Linked DNA regions of Homo sapiens: all the other regions are linked to region 3. Evidence: promoter capture Hi-C in human tissues and cell types (Jung and others, 2019). All regions are on one chromosome and are shown on one strand. Each heading gives the region's core, a stretch centred on a gene start or on the middle of the fragment in contact. The rest is flanking DNA. Distances are from core to core; before and after follow the strand shown.

The links. Contacts are between HindIII fragments. The study calls those that stand out against the background at their distance.
Region 1: a fragment that was not itself captured here is called in contact with the fragment with the promoter of JARID2 in region 3 in 1 of the 25 tissues and cell types used here (heart left ventricle).
Region 2: a contact is called between a fragment that was not itself captured here and the fragment with the promoter of JARID2 in region 3, in 2 of the 25 tissues and cell types used here (IMR-90 fibroblasts and hippocampus).
Region 4: a contact is called between a fragment that was not itself captured here and the fragment with the promoter of JARID2 in region 3, in 1 of the 25 tissues and cell types used here (mesenchymal stem cells).
Region 5: a fragment that was not itself captured here is called in contact with the fragment with the promoter of JARID2 in region 3 in 1 of the 25 tissues and cell types used here (aorta).

The regions. Positions count from the first base shown.
Region 1 is chr6:14,353,926-14,358,373 of GRCh38, reverse strand. No RefSeq gene overlaps it. Among named protein-coding and RNA genes, the nearest start is that of LINC01108, 71 kb to the right of the region's middle. The HindIII fragment of the contact is 3,624 bases long and covers 838-4,448 here.
Region 2 is chr6:14,475,325-14,479,499 of GRCh38, reverse strand. The region is part of intron 1 of LOC101928331 (a long non-coding RNA gene); the gene reads right to left. Among named protein-coding and RNA genes, the nearest start is that of LINC01108, 190 kb to the right of the region's middle. The HindIII fragment of the contact is 3,597 bases long and covers 1-3,328 here.
Region 3 is chr6:15,242,917-15,247,451 of GRCh38, reverse strand. JARID2 (jumonji and AT-rich interaction domain containing 2) reads right to left here and starts at 1,383. Exons shown (of 18, transcript NM_004973.4): 1 at 868-1,383. The coding sequence starts at 912. JARID2-DT (JARID2 divergent transcript) reads left to right here and starts at 2,078. Exons shown (of 1, transcript NR_187237.1): 1 at 2,078-3,529. RefSeq lists enhancers at 1,306-1,405, 1,516-1,565, 2,755-3,268 and silencers at 2,176-2,435, 2,446-2,755. The HindIII fragment of the contact is 9,534 bases long and covers 1-4,535 here.
Region 4 is chr6:14,614,441-14,618,643 of GRCh38, reverse strand. The region is part of intron 2 of LOC101928354 (a long non-coding RNA gene); the gene reads left to right. Among named protein-coding and RNA genes, the nearest start is that of LINC01108, 330 kb to the right of the region's middle. The HindIII fragment of the contact is 3,840 bases long and covers 191-4,030 here.
Region 5 is chr6:14,495,536-14,499,681 of GRCh38, reverse strand. LOC101928331 (a long non-coding RNA gene) reads right to left here. Exons shown (of 3, transcript XR_001743994.3): 2 at 1,517-1,625. Among named protein-coding and RNA genes, the nearest start is that of LINC01108, 210 kb to the right of the region's middle. The HindIII fragment of the contact is 4,076 bases long and covers 1-3,527 here.

The sequences.
Region 1 (4,448 bases), core at 1,400-3,899, 890 kb after region 3:
GTGGCCTTGATAGGTTTTTCCACATGTCTCAATTTGATGCTAAAAGTTTCTGATTATTTCCTATCTCTTACTTACAGGAGGCACTTTCTGCAGCTGGACAGATGAGCTAATTTCCCCTGTAGGCTTCATGGCTCCCAATTTCCCCTTCCTCTCCCCATAATCCCTTTCCTGCTTGTTGGCACCCACACAACTATTTTCCCCATATTTACAATACAATTTATTTATTTTTATCGATGCATAACTTTACTCACCTATTCCTTAAACAAACACTTATGAAACACCTATCAATGCCAAATTCTGCACTGGGTCCTATCCCCAAGTTGCTAAAAATCTGCAAGTGGATGGATAGCGGTGTCATCAGCCTCAGTACTGGGTGGGCTGACTGCAGATTCCTGTCTCTGCAGCTGTGTACAGTTGAAGCCATCCTCATGGAAGCCACCCTCAAGAATTCTGTACATAAATATAGTTATAATTAAGCATTAATCAGGCTGCACTTTGACACACTTCCTTGTAACTGAAAGTCACAATACACTAGATGCTGTCCATTTGCATCCCATTGTTCCTATAGTTAGGATTTCTGACATGAGGTTTATAGGGCTTTTGCTTAAGAATTGCTTAAACAGATTGTGAATTCCCATGGAACAGGTGATACCAATCTGTTTGAAACCCCTACAGATAAACTGAATCAGCAAGAGGATACAGTTTCTTCATCTCCCTGTCCCAAGACGTCACCTTGCACTCTTCAGCCAATCAATGATACCACTCTTCAGCCCATTCCAAAACCCTTAAAATCCCTAGCTTCAAGCTTCTCTGGGAGACAGCTTTGAGGTTTCATCTTGTCTCCTCGTTTGGCAGCCCTACATTTAAAGCTTTATCTCTGCTGCAACTCAGTGTCTCATTGTATTGATTTGCCATGCACATTGGACAACAGATCTATTATTAGAGAAAGGAAGATGGGGAGAGAGAGAGAACCAATACTTCAACTTTATATGGTTGAGGAAATCTCATAGTCTCCCTGAATTCTCTTTCCTCCTCTACTCATTGCACTTGGAATCAGAACACTTGAGTGTAAACCTGGATACCAGGTGCCTTGAACAAGTTATTTAACCCTGCTAATCTCAGTTTGCTCCTCTGTAAAATGGGCATCTGCTAACACGTATCTGACAAGGCTGTTCTTACTAGTACATGTGATAATATGTGCCAAATTTGAGTTTTCTTTGAAGTTCTAAGACGCCTCCTTCTCTTTGTGAAAATACCTTTCTCTACCAAAAGAGATATATAGACCAATGGAACAGAACAGGAGCCTCAGAAATAACACCACACATTTACAACCATTTGGTCTTTGACAAATCTGACAAAAACAAGAAATGGGGAAAGGATTCCCTATTTAATAAATGGTGCTGGGAAAACTGGCTAGCCATATGTAGAAAGCCGAAACTGGATCCCTTCCTTACACCTTATGCAAAAATTAATTCAAGATGGATTAAAGACTTAACTGTTAGACCTAAAACCATAAAAACCCTAGAAGAAAACCTAGGCAATACCATTCAGGACATAGGCATGGGCAAGGACTTCATGTCTAAAACACCAAAAGCAATGGCAACAAAAGCCAAAATAGACAAATGGGATCTAATTAAACTAAAGAGCTTCTGCACGCAAAAGAAACTACCATCAGAGTGAACAGGCAACCTACAGAATGGGAGAAAATTTTTGCAATCTACCCATCTGACAAAGGGCTAATATCCAGAATCTACAAAGAACTCAAACAAATTTACAAGAAAAAAAAAAACCCCATCAAAATGTGGGCAAAGGATATGAACAGGCACTTCTCAAGAGAAGACATCTATGCAGCCAACAGACACATGAAAAAATGCTCATCATCACTGGCCATCAGAGAAATGCAAATCAAAACCACAATGAGATACCATCTCACGCCAGTTAGAATGGCAATCATTAAAAAGTCAGGCAACAACAGATGCTGGAGAGGATGTGGAGAAATAGGAACACTTTTACACTGTTGGTGGGACTCTAAACTAGTTCAACCATGTGGAAGTCAGTGTGGCGATTCCTCAAGGATCTGGAACTAGAAATACCATTTGACCCAGCAATCCCATTACTGGGTATATACCCAAAGGATTATAAATCATGCTACTATAAAGACACATGCACATGTATGTTTATTGCAGCACTATTCACAATAGCAAAGACTTGGAACCAACCCAAATGTCCATCAATGATAGACTGGATTAAGAAAATGTGGCATATATATACCATGGAATACTATGCAGCCATAAAAAAGGATGAGTTCATGTCCTTTGCAGGGACTTGGATGAAGCTGGAAACCATCATTCTCAGTGAACTATCACAAGGACAGAAAACCAAACACCACATGTTCTCACTCATAGATGGGAATTGAACAATGAGATCACCTGGACACAGTGCAAGGAACATCACACACTGGGGCCTGTCAGGGGCTGGGGGGCTGGGGGAGGGGTAGCATTAGGAGAAATACCTAATGTAAATGATGAGTTGATGGGTGCAGCAAACCAACATGGCACATGTTTACCTATGTATCAAACCTTCACGTTGTGCACATGTACCCTAGAATTTAAAGTATAATAATAAAAAATAAATAAAATTAAAAAAAGAAAATACCTTTCTCTTTCCTAGCACTCCCTACTCTCTTCTTTCATCCCCCCATTTGTAATGGAGCTATATAATTTTAGTCCTAATGATTTTGTTTCCTTCTTCTCTTCCTCCTCCTTCATCTTTATCTTTATATTATTATTATTAACCAAAGTCCAATATCACAGATTAATTAATTTAAACAGAGACCTAGAAGAGGCAAAAGCAGTGGAGGTGAAGAAACAGAATCGGCAGCCAGTCAAAGGTGCAAATCAGATTGGCCCCAAGTTATTAGACGTGAATACTGTTAAGATAAGTCAACTTGAACTTTCTTTGGGACAAGTTAGTCACAATAAGAATGATGCATTACTTCTGCACTGGCTCTCAGCCAGGCCAGCCCTGGGAAGTGCGGTTAGTCTCTCTAACCGAACTTGGCTCCAGAAATAGAGTTAAACCTCTTTGACAGTAGGAATAGTTTCCCCTGCCCATTACACTATTTGCAAAAGAAAAGAGAATGAGAAGTATAAACACTGGAAGATCATAAATGCTACTAATAATAAATAATGCAATCCTCTTCTGGTCTGCACACACATTCAGGTCCTTGTGCCTCTCTTCCTCCAGCCATAGGGTAGCTGTGCACAATTTGTTCCCTAGGTCAGGGTGTGGCTGGGTGAGGGGTGGTAGAATCAGCCCCTTCTGCACTCATCAAGCTGTTTGCATGTTAGGCTGCACTTACCAGGAAGAGGTATCATTTTCTAATTCATAGAAAGGCATCATGATGTGAGCTGGTGTTAGCCTACTCTTCCTCCATGTTTCGTGGAGAAAGCCTTTCAGAAACCACTTTCTCCTTGTGTATCCCTGGCATGCTTTAACCCATCTGGATATCATTCCATCTTTTTTCTCCCTTCCATGCAGTGTTTGTGGTGGAGAAAGTGTAACTATTTGAAGTCAGACTGAACTCAGATTGAATCTCACATCTGCGGCTTTCCATCCAAAGGACCATGTCTGCCTGTTGTACCTTCCCTAAGCTCCTATTTCCTCATCCATAAAATAGGTGCAACAATAGCTGTTCCTGAAGGATTGTTTAAGAATTAGAAATGGTCTAATTTATATACTTGGCACAGAGTGAGTATGGACATGTAGTCAGTAAATCACCAAGAAGAGAGAAATGCCTTTCTTCAAGTTTCTAGGAAAACAAAACAAAACAAAATAAAACTTTTGGGCCTGGCCCCTATCTTAAACAAACTATACCAACTGGAGTAGGTTTTGAAAAACTGTCTGCGGCTCATGCTAAAGTAAACTGAATGTATAAAAATACAGATTTACCAAACAGAAATATGTCACATCCATTTTTTTATTCTCTCTTTATAAAAATACAAGCTGCCTACTACATTGAAAGAAGGATTCAACTTGCAGTTCCTTGATTTGTTTATTGTTTTCCAAGGGAAGCATATAGTTTGTAATTAAGTATACCTCTAGATTTTGGATGTGGGCATGTCTCTTACAGAATTGAATATTACTAATAATGACAAAGGTAAAGTGTCTGCAAATGACAAATGAATCGGGGCAGAGAAACAAGCACAATAGATTAAGTAGTATATCATTGGGAGAACCTAGGGCCTAGGATGAGAAACACAAGTCAACACCTTAAACTTTCAAAATGGGTCTCAGGATTCATTTGTCTAGAAACAGGATTGAAATAAGGAACTCAGATGCACTGATGAAGTGCTGGAGATGAGAAGGACCTAGACATGATACGGCCTAAACCTCTGGTTGCACAGATGGGGAAATAGGCCCAGGGAGTCATTCCACTTATTTAGTGG
Region 2 (4,175 bases), core at 281-2,780, 770 kb after region 3:
CCCCCACAGAATAAGAGACCGTCAAGGATGTGTAAGTCTCAGTGAACTTCCAGGTGAATGCACCTGATGAGTGACCTGAGCTATTGCACTTTCATGCTGAAGAACTGCCACCTGAGCCCTGCCAACCACCAACTCTTAAATAATGGGAGGAGATTGTTACCAAGTAATAGACAGCTGAAAAAAAGAATGCAAAAGCAGAATAAATTAAAATCTAGAAAATAATTCAATAATCACATATGAGATTCCCCTCAGGGAATTTCTGCTTTTGTGATACATGTAGGATAGTCTTATGTTGAAATCTGAGAATAAAAATTCAAACTAAATGTCAAGAAAATTTTACTCATTTATTAATTCCTTCAACAGTCTTTTGTTGGCCTTCTGTTATGAGCCAGGCTCCGTGTGAATAGAGAAGACAGGGAAAGGGAGAGAGACGAGGGAGCTCATCTCACCCCAGCACAGTGTGCTAAGTGTTGTGAAGGACGGCTGTGGGGAGTACAGCGGAGGGTAGGAGGACGGGCAGAGCTGAGGGAACTTCCCAGAAAAAGGTGGCCCCAGAGAGAAAGATTTTGCTGGCTAAGGACTTTTATGGAAACCTAACTTGGGATGATTTAATTCCAGGTATCTTTATGAAACTTAGGATTTAAAAAAGACAAATGGAGAGTTAGATAAGGAGAGACAAGCATTTCCTATTTATTTAAAGATTCCAAATACAACTCTTCATAAGATATGAATGATCTGTCTTGGCTCCCTTAAAGCACATCCTGGACACATGGCCAAGAAACTGCTTCCTTCAATCACCACGACAGAGTGCCTCGTGTAACAGTGTTCTGCACCTTCCCCTCTCCTCCCCTACCCACACCCATCCTCACACATGCTCCTCCCTGCCCCTGACACTGACAACCTAGGAATTGCTAGGAGAAAAGCCTGGCATATGTGGGAGCCACCCTCAGAGAAGCTGTCCCGAAGGAAAGGTGCTAACTAGGTGAAGACATATGACTCTCTGAGCGCTATTTCTTAATTCTAATGGAGGGAGACTGTGGCATGGAGCCAGGAAACAGAAAAGGCATGAAAAGAAGAACTAATTTGGAGCTGGCGGGGTGAGTGTTTCCTGGCTTATTTAAAAACATAGATACAGAATTCAAACATGGAAGAGGAATCTGACTACCAGAAGGAGACAGGATGTCAACAATGGAGTCAACAATGGCCAGGCCTGAAGCGATGTATTTTGACACTAGGGAAGCCATATAAAGAATACTGCTTGGTGGATCGGGTGGGTTCATCTTATACTCAATGTTTCATTTCCATTTAAATCTCTTGGAGGCAGAGGTTGAGGTTATTGACTTGGCCCCATATTAAGGAAAAATCATAACCCAGGCCTCCAAAGACCTTCCAGACTACAAGAGAAAAAGTCAAACACATGGCTAACGGGCATATATAAGGATCTTCACTGAACACGGACTTTTGAATGTCTATGATGTAGCAAGCACTGTGCTGGACACCACAGGTGCATTAAGGCATATGCCGGAGTCCCTTCCCTCAGGGAACATCCCTTCTAATTGCCACTTAAACATGGCAAACCTACGGAGGTGTGCCAGGACAAGGGCAGTCAGAAGGGTGGTGTGGTATACTGGGAAGCTCATAGACCACCTTGCTTTGAGTGCCTCTCAGCCGCTGTCTTGCTCTGTGATTTTAAGGAAGTCCTTGAACCTCGCTGAGCCTGCTTTTTCCATCTGCAGATTGGTGATAATGAAACCTACCTTGCTGTTTCATGTTGAGGAATCACTGTGAGAAGGTAAGGCCGTAACAATTTGTCGGAAGGAGAAGGAAGGTCAAAGCTTTGTTGAAGAGCTTTATGCTATTGGCCAAACAGAAACATAGAGCCCTGTGTGTGGTAACTCTCAGGGGACATGGTTGCCTCGTGGATAAAAACGTGAGAATTAGAAGAACAGAAAAAGCCAGCAGGAAAACTCAGAGGAAAGAGTCAGAGAGAACAAGGATGTTGTCTGTCTCCAGCATAATTGTGTAGAGCCTGGGATTCATTGCTAGTGACATTCCCTGGCTTCTCCCTCAGTGTGACGTCATGTGCTCTGTGATGTTTATTGCACTGCATTCCAGGGATGCTGCACAGAGCCATGTCCAGTGTCAGAAACCTTGGAAAATAGTCCTCGGTTTAATTTTAACTTTTTATATAAACAGTGACCTAATTTGAGGAAGGCTCGGTCTGGCCAGGCATCCCCGCTCCCACATTTCCTCCTCTTCACTCCCTCCTTCTGCCCTTAGTCAAACTGTCTCGCCTTCATCTCCCATATGGACTTTGCAAACAAGCAAGGGGGATGTGTGAGCTCAGCTAACTTGAAAAGAGAAGACGTGTGCCAGCGAAGCAAAACACTCCAGCCAAGTCATGCACCTCTGCGGGAGGGAGCCACCTCCTCAGCTCTCATCGTGAAATGTTATCTCACCAGGGCAGATGGAGGTACAGACAGAGGACTCCAACGCAACACAAGCAGCTGCCTGTCCAGAAGAGAGCCCTTTCTCTCCCTCCCAGTCCCAGCTCCAGCTGTATTTTCTTTCTTTCTTTCTTGAGCAAGAGGTCAGGTTCTCTCTGTATGCTTTGTGCAAATTAAGTGAGCTGTGAGTGCTGCCTGCGGCCGAAGGAACTACCCTCTGGTCTATGGTTCATCCTTCCTTCACTCCAACCACCACTGAGGGAGCAGAGCCCTCCCTGCCCAAATGCACAAGTGGGCAGCACCTCCGAGAACACAGAAGAATATGAAACGACCCTTCTAATTACTCAGGTGCAAGCAGAGGAGCTAACCATCCCACCGGGAGCCCACCCATGAGTGATGAATTCCAGTGACTGAGCCCAGTGTTGGGGGCTAGGGTAGAGGAAGAGTCCCTTGTGGACACGGTGGGAGGGAGGGAGGCATGAGGGGACAAGCAGGATGCCCTGACAGATTTTAACCCAGAAGCATGAATCCAGGTCTGAGGTCAGCAAACGTTTTCTGTAAAGGGCCAGATAGTAAATAATTTGTACTCTTTGTGGGCCATCCAGTCTCTGTCTACTTGACTCTGCCATCGTAGGGCAAAAACAACCACAGACAATAAATAAACGAACGGGCGTGTCTTGTGTTCCAATAAAAGATGGTTTACAAACACAGGCGGCTACTGGATCTGGCTCATTGGCTGTAGTTTTCTGACTGAAAGATCTAAAAGAACACCCTTTCCCATTGGTTCTGTCCATGTTTCCATATAGCTAACAATATCCTGGAGACCAGTTTGCCGCCCCGTTCCCCAAACCTTTATGTGCCTCTGATTTCTACACCCTGTTACTCTGTCTGCAAAAACCCCCAAATGCTGTAACTGGCTATTCACCTGGACAGAATGGCCTCCTTCAGGGAAAGCCAGCAGGGATGGTGAATTCAGATTTCCTGATTTCGTTGACAAATTCCTCACCACTGGCAGGAATGGGAAAGATAGATATTGAAGGTGCTGAAACCCACCCCTGTTGTCAGTTCAGGAGTGAGGTAAAAACATTCCTTGAGCAATTTGGTTTAGAATCATAGAGCCTCCTATTTTCTAATCCTTCTCTCTTTCTAGGTCTGATAATCTGAATATTGGCACTTCTACTTTATTCTCCATATTTCTTACCTTTTCTTTTCGTTTTCTGTTACTTCATACATTCCTCATGCTTTCTAGAAAAGCTCCTTAGTCTAATATTGCAACCCATAAGTTCCTTTAGCTATACTCACTCTACCATTTTCCCCATTCATTGCTGTGTTTTGTTTTGTTTTGTTTTAGAGTCAGGGTCTTGCTGTGTTGCCCAGGCTAGACTCAAACTCTTGGGCTCAAGGGATCATTCTGTCTGAGACCCCTAGGTAGCTGGGATTACAGGTGTGCACCACCATGCCTGCCATTGAGATCCTTAATCAAGTGTGAGACCCGGTGGAATGGCTAAGGGCTGGACACAGAGATAGATTACTTGTGTTCAAATCCCAGCTCTGCCTATAATTGCAGACAAGTTACTTAACGTTTCTGTGCCTTACTTCCCTCATCTGCAAAATGGGCTTAATAATAGCACCTGTCTTATTCTAGTGAGTATGTAAATGAGCAATGTTCACAGAGCACAGGGGAGAGCAGCATAGTTGAATTCACATTATTTTCAGAACTAGTGCTTC
Region 3 (4,535 bases), core at 134-2,633:
CTCCCCTCAAACTTAAAAAAAAAAAAAAGCCACCACACACAAAACAAAAACACTCCCCATGCCAATCAAAACGTAGCTGTACTATGCACAAAACAAATTTAACTATTCCAAGCCATTTAAATCTAGGAATAATCACCCAATTTCAGAAGCCCAGTTAACAGGGAGAAATTATTTGTAGTTACTTACATATGCATTCACGTACACACTTAAAAACATTAGCCATAGTGTGTGTCCTTTTCCCCTACAACTGGAAACCATGAATTTTTTAAACAAAACCAGCCTCATTATTAAAGTCAATCCCAACAAATGCATTCGCTGTAACATGATTCCCAACTGGTTTATGTTGCAAACCAGATAAGCCAAAACGACCACAGACATTAAATTTGATGTGCCAGTGCAAAGAGAAGATCGCCATAATCGGACCCTCGATCGCAACTTAAAGGGCTTCCAACACACATGCGTTACACGATTTTTCCAAATAACATTAATAATAATAACACAGGCTCATTTGCATGCAAAGTGCAATACGGGGCCAAATCCGCTTGAGAATGCAGTTTAGTTACATTACCGCAGCCACCCCCCACCTCAAGCTCCACCAAAATCCCTTGCCTTTCATCTAAAAGTAGATTATGGTTGTGTCATTCGAGGTCAATTTATTCACTTGAGGTATCTCTACACCAGTCTGTTTTTTCAACCAAACTAGGCAGACACCACTTTGCTTGAAAAGCCCTCTTTCAGAAAAAAAAGAAACAGCCTTATCGGACGCTGTGTTTAAAACCCTTCAGAGGCAGAATTATCTATAAACTTGACATTCACAGCCATTGCTTAAAACTGCAAGTCAAAGGATGTGTTGTTAGGAGCACTTACGTATTTCTTCTGAATGATATTCCTCTTGGGTCTTTCCTTGCTCATTCTGAGATCCAAATGCTGATTGCAAAAGGGGACAATTGCTTCATGAATTTAAAGCCGTCAGAAATTTGCAAAAAAATATCCTGGTGGTTTTTATTGTTGTTGGTGGTGGTTGATCTTGTAATCCGACTTTTCTTCCTCTTCCCCCAAAGCCAGATTCGCCTTGAAATAAATCCGAAATTGGGAAGGAAAAAAAAAGAGCCAAAGACGAACGAAGCAAACAAAAAAAAATTCACTTTAGTAAAACACTCATAATGGAAAATTTCCCCCGAAACACATACACACACACACAAAAAAAAACCGACGCCCTTCACTCCCCCCCCTTTTTCCTCCAAAAACTACATCAGCGAAACGTGAAGGTCCTTAGTGTCTGATCCGTAGTTACATCTTGGAAAAGAAAAGGGAAAGATAAATAAAAAATGTTGGAAGTCACGTTTGTGCTGCAGCAGCAGTGCGAGCAGAAGAGTCAACTCCAGCGGCGGCGGCGGCGGCGGCGGCAGCACCACAGCGAGGGCTCGCCGAGTCTCTTTTTTCCAAGCCCCCTAACCAATGAGAGAGAGGCTATCCAGCCCAACTTTAAATGGACTCTGCTTTTATACAAGTTAGGGCTCCTCGGATAATTCCCCGCCGGGCGCCAGCCGAAAACTCCCACCGCTCAGCCGCCAGGCGCCCGCTTAGCCTGGTGCCGACCGCCCCTGGCCCAGTCCAGGGCACCCCCGCAGCCTGGCCAACCAGACACCCGAGCGACCTCGACGAACCCCTCCCAGGCAAGCCCTCGGGCGTCGCTCCCACGCCGAGCCCAGGCGTGGAATTGAGAGAGGCTCCCTAGCTCAATGCATGGCACGCTCCGTCGCTCCACCTCACCCCCTTTCCCCTGCCTGCCGCTCACCCCACGGCCGCCCCACGCCAGCCCCCGCCACTGCCTTCGCGTCTACCTGCAGCCGGGCTGCTGGGTAGGAGTGCCCCAGGACGCCCGGCCCCGGGGAGAGCCGCCTATTCCCGGGGCACCTTAGAATGGTCCCCTTGATCTTCTGGAAGTTGTAGTCCCCCGACTACAAAATGGCTATGGCCACGGAAGCTGGGAACTACAATTCCCAGCCTGCCCCGCAAAGCCTGTCACTCAACTCCCCTCCCTCCTCCTCGCCCCCTCCCCCTCACTGGCCGTGCCAACAAACGCTTGGACGTGTCCCGCGTGCGACACTGCTAGAGGCTGGCTCGGGATTGGCCCGCGGAGCGTGTGGTCCGCGAGCGAGGAACTCCCCACGCCGGCCCTCCTCCGCCCCCCGGGCCCCGGCCCCCCTCCCCTGGCGGCCGCCAGCCCCCTCCCCGCGCGCCCCGCCCCCACCCGCGGCGCGAACCGCCTGTGGAATCGAGGAATCGCGCGCGTGCGGCCCGGAGCCGCGGGGGAGGGACGCGAGGCTTCCCCGGGGAAGGCCTCGGAGCGTGGCGGTGAGGGGGGCGGTGTCAGGGAGGGGTTGGAGCCCGTCCTAAGGAAAACTGGGCCACGCACCAAGAGGAATCCTCGGTGCGAACTAGTTGATCGGCGGCGCCTGCTGCTTGTGCCGTGCAGCCGGTGTCACCTCAGGACAGCGCCTCGCGTCTGTGTACAGAGCGTGCTGCGGGCGCCTAGGGTAGTCCGAGGTCACCCCTCTCCGCGCCCCGCAGTCGCGCACGCCCCCACGCGCGGGGTGGGCGGTGGCCGGGGGTCGCCGAGTGGAAAGGCCACGCCCCCCCACGCCCGGGCTCGGCACGCTGCCCCTGGGTCGCGAACGCGCCTCCGCTCGACCCGCTTGGAGGACGTCGCTGGTGGCCCAGGAGTGAAGCCCCGGCGGCTGCCTCCTGAGAAAAGATAGCCGTGTTTAAAGAGACTGAACGGGATCTTTGCTTTGCCGGGCGTATTTTGTGATAAAATACCACAAAATGTTGAGACAAAAATGAGTGGAATATGGAGACCGAGCCGCACAGACACGCAATTGTAAGGAAACATCTCGAACACCGAGTGCCAGGAATATCAACTGTCCGGGCCACGCAAGAGCCTGCTTTTTACCTGCCTCCAGCCCCCTGTCGTGCTGGTTTAATCGCTGAAACAAATGAAGTAGCAGGCCCTGGCATAGCGCTTTGGGCCTTCGCCTTATTAACAACTTTGTCAAGTCTCGCATCGCGATTCTGCCTTGTTAATTTCCTTGTTTTTCGCTGTGGTTTTGGAGAAGCAATGTTTTCCATGATCTCTCAGGCTAGCCTCGGAATAAAACGTGGCAGAAGCGCTCCCGCGAACACATACCCATATATTTTATTCTACCTATTCCCTAGAGTCTGCTAACTTCAAAAGTCTAGATACTCACACAGCTGTTTACTTGCAGCAGTATTTGAAGAGATAACCTTGGTGTCTAGAAAGGTCTCAGAAACTGGAGGTAAGAGACCTGGATTCAAATCGCGCCTTGGCCACTTCCCAAAAGGCAACCGAGAGCCTCTCTGAGCTTGTCAGTTTCCGCATCTGCAAATTAGTGGTGATCAAACCTGTGGGGATGATTATGTGATAAATAACAGTAACCTAGTTTAAAACTAGGCACGTTATTGGAAGCTTTCAGTAAACGAAATAAAAAGCCTTTTCGAGAGGGTATTTTCCTTATTATTTTTACCTTTTCAAAAAATCTGAAATGAAATAATTTTATCTAATGTTCACTTCACAATTGGAAAAATAAATGATCTTTTGTGCCCTGAATACTGCAAAACTTGTACGCTGGTGCCATTTCCTGGGAAGGATCCAATGGGGCAGACTACAGTAGGGCCACCCAAGGTGTTTTCTAAAAACTTTCTGATCATTAGGACTGGCATACTGGGAATCTCCACGTCTCCACGTTGTTAAGATTTTAACCAGCTTTCTGTAAGTTTAACGCAGATACCTCATTCCCTAGGCAAATATTAATGAACAAAGGTGAGTTTCTTTTCTGTTCCCCTAACTAGCCCTGGGGCCTGGACTTCTCAGTCCTGGGCTTGCGAACTCCCCTGCCAGGCTACCAGCTCCAGGTCACCTGGTGTGAAAAACTATTGTGTAAAGTTGAGGCCTCAGGGCAGAGGGGAAAGGAAGGAATTTGCTCATTTCCAAAAGATTTGAATAATATTAGTGTTGTTTTCCCTGAAAGAGAAAAAAGGTTGGCCTTCTTAGTGGTTGAAAGATTTTCCTGTTGTGAAAGTAACCTACTCCTAATGAACTTCCTTCCCCTACCATCTTGGCAAGACCATCCAAGGCTTTTCTTGCTCCTTCCTCCTCTTTTTCATTTTCTGTAAGTCAAATGCAGCTTTTCTTATGATGATTTTCACATCTCAAAGCCTTGACCTCTTCAATTGGAGGGGCAGGGATGAGAACATGTCTAGGTACATTGATTGTATTAGACTCTATGCCAGCACTGTCCTCATCCCTGAGGACACAGGAAGCTCACAGCTCAGTAAAAAAAAAAAAAAAAAAAAGGCAGAGTTTACAATGGATTGTGATACCTCCAAAAAGTACTATATCAGCAATGTAGAAAAGAAGCTAAAAAGAACACATTGCTGAGATGACTAGGTGTTAAGGAGTTTTGAAGTAGGTGTAGGGGTTCACATACATACTTAAAGAAGTGCATATTTCA
Region 4 (4,203 bases), core at 861-3,360, 630 kb after region 3:
GCACTTCTTAAACCGTAAGCATCATAGAGAAACAGAGCCAGCAGGCACCTCAGTGATCGCACAGTCCAACTTATCTTTAGACCTTCGCAAAGGAAAGGAGGCAGACAGCCTGTGCTCAAATCCCAACTTTGCCATTTACTTTGGGCAAGTAGTTGCAGTTTCCTAAGCCTCAACTCCCTTGTTGGTGTGAACATTAATTGTTGGCTTCAGGATCACGCTGTGAGTGAAGTTGAAGGCTGGTGCCTCCAGGTGCCAGGAGTCACTATAAATTGGGAGACCAGGGCATGTGTCTCCATCCGTGTCCCCCATAATCCAGGTTTAGACTTAATAGTGCCCAGAGGAGGCCTGAACAGGCTTTTCTTTGTGCGGGGCAATAGACTTTCGGAGACTGAATTCCATTAAATGACGCCAGCAACAATTCAGAGCTTCCATCCTACATCACTTAAGTCAAACCTGTGCAGCTCATTTCCTGTTTCTCTTATGGGTTGCTTTTCCTTGCTTTTGGTTGGGGAAAAGTTAGTTTTGAAAACACCCCTTGTAATAGGTGTTGCAAAACACTTGAGCATCGATATGAGCCTATTAAATTCTAATAGCTCTGTTGGCAGGTAAAATGCGCATATAGATTTGAAAAGTGCTCATGCCATTTGCCTTTTGGACTGCTGGGGCCATTCTGAAGAGATTACATGGTTAAGGTCAAGGAGTTTGGAGGGGTAGAGTTGGTCTCTCCAATTCATTTCCCCTCAGGTTGTTTTCCTAGGCAATTATACATTGCAGGATGGTTCATCTGACTAGCAAGAAGCTAGTCTTCCTAAACATCTATTGTTCCTCTTCAACCAAGAATATCTATTTTTTCTTTGTCAACACCACTAAGGGATTATGCCACCTCTCAGCTTTTCCTATTCTAACTTTGTTCAAATAGTTTAATTCTAAAAGCTGCTGATTCCAAGGAAAAAAAAAATCTACCGAGAAATCCTACAGTGTGGGATTCTGGTACTAACCAAATAAGGCTATTTGATTGTGTAAGTAAATACCCCAGGCCCAAAAGTTTTTGCTAAGGGAGAAAGATCTGAAATAGAAGACAGGCTGAAGTAAGGTCTAGCTTTTTGGGAGACGGAGAGAATGTGCTGGGGGAAAAAAAATCCCTTGCAGGGGATTCTGGGTTAGACAGAAGAGAGAAAGGAGTAACGAGATCATCAGTGCTCACTGTTACCTATGATATTTAGCAGAAAGATCCTCTAGGGTGAAGTACTGGAACCAATGCATTCCAGAGCCAGATGTGAAACAGAAAATGTTGGGACTTAGGGAACTGCATCCTAGGAGACTCCTTAAAATGTGTCATCTCATATTTTGGCTTATGGTGAGGCAGCAAGGGCTGAACTGTCCTAATAGCCATTTAAGTTTTCAACATGATGTAGAGTCAAAAAATGATGTCAGAACTTCAGAAAATGTGTTTAGACTAGACTCTTTTACCTTGTGGGAATTCAGTTGAAAGAATCACTAATTTTTTCATATGGCTACTGTCATTGATTTACAAAGAATTCTTCTTGCAGGCATACATAAAATACAGGAAACCCCATAATTAAATACCTACTCTGACCACAAAGTCAGACTGTCTTAAGCTATCTCCTTCATGCACATGCACATAGAAAGAAAGATCCATCTCTGAGCATCCATTGAAAACTTGCAGATTTTTTTCTTTACCCCTTCCTAGAATTGCTGTCAAATTAAGCTCCACTTCAGAAGACAAGCAACAGTGGGAGAAACTCTGAGTCAACGGCTTTAACTTTGGCAGCGTTCTTCACTGATTCGTGAAGTAGGCTAGCAACCTCGTTTCCCCTTTTAACCCACGTCCCATGCCACGTGTGTCTGGAACAAAAGAAATTTTAATATGGACAGCATGAACGAATGGAGGTGGGGTGTTCCTTCCTGACTCCACTCCTAGGAGTTAAGCTGCAAACACTGTCACCTTCGTGCATTTGATTCCGAGGCTTATAAAGATTCTAGACTATGAGATGAAATGGGGCCAGTTCAGCTGCCTGAATGGGCTCTTCCATAGATGGCAGAGGGGCAAGCTCTTGCAGACTGGAAAAGCTTCCTAAGAATTGCTTATGCTATACTAGCGCCACCCCCAACAAGTCCATTCAGCAGGCATCCCATCCCCCAAACCTGGATGTGGAGGGCTGAGTAATGGCACCCAAAGATATTTGCATGTGAACCCTTGGAACCTGCAAACGTTACCTTGTATAGCAAAATGAATTTTGAAGATATGATTACATCAAGAACTCTGAAAGGGGAGCATTATCCTGGATTATCTGGGTGGGCCCTAAAAGTAACCACAAGTATACTTATAATAGGGAGGCACAGAGCCATTTGACTACAGAAGAGGAGAAGTCAATTGGATGATGGTAGCAGACATTACAGTGATGCGGCCACAAGCCAAGCAATGCTGGCAGCCACTGGAAGCTTGAAGAGGCAGGAATGGATGTTCCCCTGGAGCCTCCAGAAGGATTCAGCCCTATCGACATGTTGATTTTAGCCTCATAAGATTCCTTACAGACTTCCAGCTCCAAGAACTGCTGGAGAATAAAGTTCTGTTGTTTGAAGTCACTGACTTTATGGTAATTTGTTACAACCGTAATAGAAAATGAATACATTCTTCTTTTCAGATTTGCTAAAGAATGACGGAATGCGTCCCTCTGGTTCTCACTGGGCTGCTATTGGGACACTAAGGGATACCTGCATAGCCACACCTGCCTGCCTCATGTAGAATACTCTGGCACTGAGTTCTTAGGGAGATAAATGCACGTTTTCCCAATCTGTCCACTCAGCCTGTTTCTCAGAGCTGAGCTCTTCTGAGAACTTTGGCGGGGTGAGAAGCTGACCTCAAGAGTTGCCACAGTACCTCCCTTTTCCTTTTGCAGTTACTTTTTGCTTCTTCCCCACTTCCACAGTCACTCCCCAGTCATTCCCCAAAATAGCCTGGTTCTGTGTCTCATTCACTGAGAGGCTGGCGCCATTAGCTAACTGAAGCAAGAGATCTGTGTAGTTGAGTCAAGTTTACTCTCCCCTCTTCTCACCTGGCAAGCTTCTTTCTCATCTTGTTAACCATGTATTTTTAACACTTGCCTCTCAGAGAAGGTGTTATCCTCCTTTCTTGACAGAGTCATTGAATTTCCAGTTCAGAAGGACCTTTATTAAACACATTAATTCCAACTCCAGTAAAGTAATTAACGTGGGGCTTGGGCAGTCGGGAGAGGTAGTAATGGGGCTAAGGGACCCACAGTTGTAATACCACCCCAGGTAATTCTGAGACACATGGCCTGTGGGCTGCTCTTGGAGAAACAATGGCAAGATTGCTAAGTCAAAAGAGGGGAAGCAAGCAGTGGGGACCTTCATTTTTTGGAACAAATTCTACTTGAAGCCACTGTCGTGTCCCTTTCTTCTTGTTCCTACAGAAGTAGAAAACAGTCCCTGGAAGATTGTCCTTCCAATGGCCATGGGCTAATCCGTGTGCTTTGGCACGTTCTGGGCAGATTCGTGGCTGAGTTTTGTTAAACCTGGGACCCGTAGGAAACCCTGGACATTCGTTGCACTTGGGCAAAGCTAAATTGCAAGAGCACTTCATTGAGATGCTGAGCTATCTGGGAAAGGAGCAAGCAGTCAGGCGAACCAGAAAGACCCATTTAACCAACTTGGAAGATGGGCATTTTTGATGAGAGCATTAACCTTCTCTTGGCTGGCTGTCATTTCCAAATGACAGCAGCGTGCCTGGCATTTCCATGAACTCTTTCATCTCTAAGAGAAGAAGGGGAAGCAAGGGTCACATCTAAGATATTAAAAGCAGGAAGGAAACCTTTGAGCAATTTGGTACCCTTTGGCCTGTGGATTTTTTTCTCCCACTGAGGTGGTGCATATTTAAAAAGCATAACCTAGGAGATGTTTTGAAAGAACAAGTTCAAAAACTGGCTTAGACCTGCTTTTAGAATGTTAGAAATTGCCTGCCCTTGTGGATGGTCAGGACATAAATTCTTCTGGGAGTTGGGCCCTGACAGGATTCTTTTGGTTGCAAGAGACAGAAAGCCAAGTTTGTATTTTCTTAATTAAAAAACAGGAGCTACAGGTCTCAGGTATCTGAACTGTCTCATTACAGATGAGGCTTCAGGCACAATTGAATACAGAGGCTGAATGATATAATTGAGGATT
Region 5 (4,146 bases), core at 240-2,739, 750 kb after region 3:
CTTGCTGGGTCCTCCCAGCTGTGTTGATCCCAAGTTTATCTCTTGGCATCTAAGGATCCACTACTCTGTTTGTCTTTAGAAGGGTGGTGATGCGAGCAAAGGTGATGGAAACGACAGACCTGACCTTGAGACCTAGTTCTGTCATTTGCTAGCTGTGTGATTGTGGGCAAGTTGCTTCACCTCTCTGGTCCTAATTTCCTCATTAAAAGTGAACATTAAATGCTATAGCATATAGAAAGTTCCTAAGTGGGCCAGGTGTGGTGGCTTACGCCTGTAATTCCAGCGCTTTGTAAGGCCAAGGTGGGAGGATCACATGAGCCCAGGAGTTTGAGACCAGACTGTGCAACATAGGGAGACCTCATCTCTCCAAAAAATAAAAATAAATTAGCCAGGCATGGTGGTGTGTGCCTGTAGTCCTAGCTCCTCTGGAGGCTGAGGCAGGAGGATCGCTTGAGTCTGCTAGGTCAAGGCTGCAGTGAGCTATGATCATACCACTGCACTCTAGCCTGGGCAACAGAGCAAGATCCTGTCTCTAAAAAATAAATAAAATTAAATTTAAAAAAAGTGCCTACATGCCTGCATATAGTAGATACTCAACAAATTATGATAATAATAGCTATCATTCCTACAAGTGTATGTGTTGTGCACAGCAGTGATTTGACTTGGGGCATTTTACTAAGTCCTTTGATGTGTGTTTTCCTGATGTCTCTGCTTAGATTAAGCTTCTTGAAGTTAAGAGCCCAAGTTTTCTATTTATTTTGTAACTGTTCCCTGCATTTACTTTGTGCTATTTTCCTGCCTGATTCTCTGCCTCTTAAAAATGCCTATCATCATGATAGCAATGCCCAAACTAACTCCAGCTCTACAAATAAAGCTTACACCCTCTCATCAGAGTGTAGCAGGTACGAATTGCACTCTAGAATTTGGAAGTAGGAAACATGGCAGTTCATTATTTAAAAAAAAAAAAATGAAATTACATGTGGCTCCGAGCTCCCACTATGGAAGTGGGAAGGAAGGGAGGAAGGAAGGAAGAAAGGAAAGAAGGAAGGAAGGAAGGAAGGAAGGAAGGAAGGAAGGAAGGAAGGAAGGAAGGAAGGAAGGAAATACCTGGAGGTATTTTCAGTTGTTGGCAGTGACTTTTTTTTTTTGACAGTCTTACTCTGTCACCCAGGCTGGAGTGCAGTGGCGTGATCTCGGCTCACTGCAACCTCCACCTCCCAGGTTCAAGCAATTTTCCTGCCTCAGCCTCCCGAGTAGCTGGGACTACAGGTGTATGCCACCATGCCAAGGGTAATTTTTTGCATTTTTAGTAGAGACCAGGTTTCACTGTGTTAGCCAGGATGGTCTTGATCTCCTGACCTCGTGATCCACCCGCCTCGGCCTCCTAAAGTACTGGGATTACAGGGGCAGTGACTTTTTAATTTACCATATGTGTCACTTGCTCCCATACTATCTCTGTACTCGGATTATTGTCCTCTAGTGGGCTGTTTCCTTCCTTTTAGTCCCTCATACCTACCATGCTTGCACCAGTGTCTCAGACCAATTATGGCAGCCAGTCCATTAACTGGATCCCTCCAAAGGTATCCCAAGACTCCACTTCCTCATTCAGTACCTCTGCTCCAGCACTAGATTGAGAAGGAAAGAAAAATTAGTATTTATTGATCATTTCCTATATAACACATTTAAATGTGTTGCCTAGTTTAGAACCAGGCTGTAATCCCAGCTCTTCCATTCCAAGCTGCATGACCTCAGGTAAGACACTTACCCTCTGCAAGATTCACCTCACCTCACCTGTAGAAAGAAGATGCTCCAAAAAAAAAAAAAAAAAAAAAAAATCAATTAAAAAAAAGATTCTTTGGTACTATTAAGCTTTGGCCCTTATCTTTATCCGCTCCTAACAACCTAATTTTCTGACTCTGTAATTTTATTTTTTCCATTTTTTTCTTCTCTGCTAGACAAGAAATAAATGGAAAGCCAATCTTCAGATAAACTAATCAGTGCTAATGGATGTTAATGATTTAAGGGGTTTACCTCTCAAAGGGATTTGAATTTTAATAGGTAAATTCCATTTCTTAGTTCAAAAAATATCGAGTGTCCAGTGCCTGTCAGATTAACTTTAACCTAAAATTTCCCAAAATGTGCACCATGAAAAAGAGTTCCCCAGTCAACTAAATTTTTAAAATACAATGCACCAACTTCTGCTTCTGCCCAAGGTGAGATAAAAGGGCGTGAATTTATCCTCCTTTCCGAAACAACAATAGAAAAACATACAAAATATATGAAAAAATGATTTTCAAGACTTCTCAGCAGGAAACAAAGGGCAGTGATTCAGACAGAGCATGAAGGGGAGTCCTAGGAGTACTCCAGCTTACTGCCTTCAGAAAACTTCCAGGCTGCAGTGCAGGGAGGGGAAACCCAGGTAGAGCAGAGGAGATGGGGCTGAGGATGTAGGAGATCACCATGGCCAGAGGTCATGGGACGGCATACAAAGGGAAAACCCTGGATGTCTGCAAAGGTTCCCCCTGTGTGCACAACAGAGTACAGACCAACACATGCATGTGAGGAAGCTACCCAAGAATGGGGCAAGAAAAAAAATCTGGAAGAATGAGAGAATAGTGCCTGACACATACACAAAGCTGAGAATAGTGACTATTCCCACCAACCAGACTGGAAAACTCAATTCATGAGGCATTTGGGTAGAATACTTAGCAATGTTGTGCCTTAGTAATGGAGAATAATTGGCCTCAGATTAAGCAGTTATGGACCTGCCTAACAAATCATAAAAGTTACAGCTGAAAGAATCAAATCATTTCCAATACATCCCAGAACAAAGCTCAAGAATAGTTATACAAGAATATTTAAACAAAAATATTCAGAGCTCAACAAGGTAAAAATCCACAATGTTTGGCATCCAAATAAAGATATCAAGCATTCAAAGAACCGTGACCTATAGTGAGGAGAATAATCAGTGAATTGAAGGCAATCCAGAACCAGCACAGAGGTTAGTTAGAACTAGCAGACAAGAACAAACCAGTTGTTAGAACTTTATTCTATATGTTCAGATAGTGAAGTAGAGATATGGAAAATATTTTAAAAGATCCAAATGAAACTTCTGGAGAAAAACTTTACTGTCTGAGATTAAATAATAAATGGGATTGATGGCAGATTAGACATAGTAGAAGAAAAAATTAGTGAACTTGAAGATGTATAGTAAGAGAAAATATCCTAAATGAAGCACAGAAAAAATAGACTCAAACAAATGATAAAAGTATAAGTGAGCTGTGAAAAAACTTCATGTAGCTTAATGTGTGCATAATCAGGAAAATATTCAAAGGCATTCTGATTGAGAATTTTTCAAAATGGTTTTTCAAAACAGGATCAATACCAAACAAAAATACTAGAATAGCATGGTAAAACTGCAAAAATCAAAGACAAAGGTAAAATCTTAAAAGCAGCCAGAGAAAGACACATTATATTTATGAGAACAATAATAACATAGACAATAGAAATAGAAGCCAGACACACCTGTAATCTCAGCACGTTAGGTGGCTGAGGTGGATGGATCACTTGAGGCCAGGAGTTGGAGACCAACACGGCCAACATGGCAAAACTCCATCTCTACTAAAAATACAAAAATTAGCTGGGTGTGGTGGTGGGCCCCTGTATTCCCACCTACTCAGGAGGCTGAGGCAGGAGAATCACTTGAGCCTGGGAGGTGGAGGTTGCAGTGAGCCAAGAGACCATGCCACTGTACTCCAGCCTGGGTGACAGAGCGAGACTCTGTCTCAAAAAACAGACAAACAAACAAAACAACTCGTGTTATGTGACTAAAATAATGCCAAGATGGGAATTTTTTGTTTTAAATGCATATATGGAAAAAGAAGAAAAGTTGAGATTAAGCATCTATTTCAAGAAACTAGAGGAAAAAATTTAAAGAAAATTGAAGGAATGTAATAATAAAGTTAAGAGCAGAAATCAATGAAATGAAAAACAAAAATAGACAAAATCAACAGAACAAAAAGTTGTTTAAAAGATTGATAAACTTTTTTAAAAAAGATTGATAAAGTTGACAAACTCTAACAAGCCTGATCAAGAACAAAAAAATAAAACACACAAATTCTCAATATGAAGAATGAAAAATGGGAA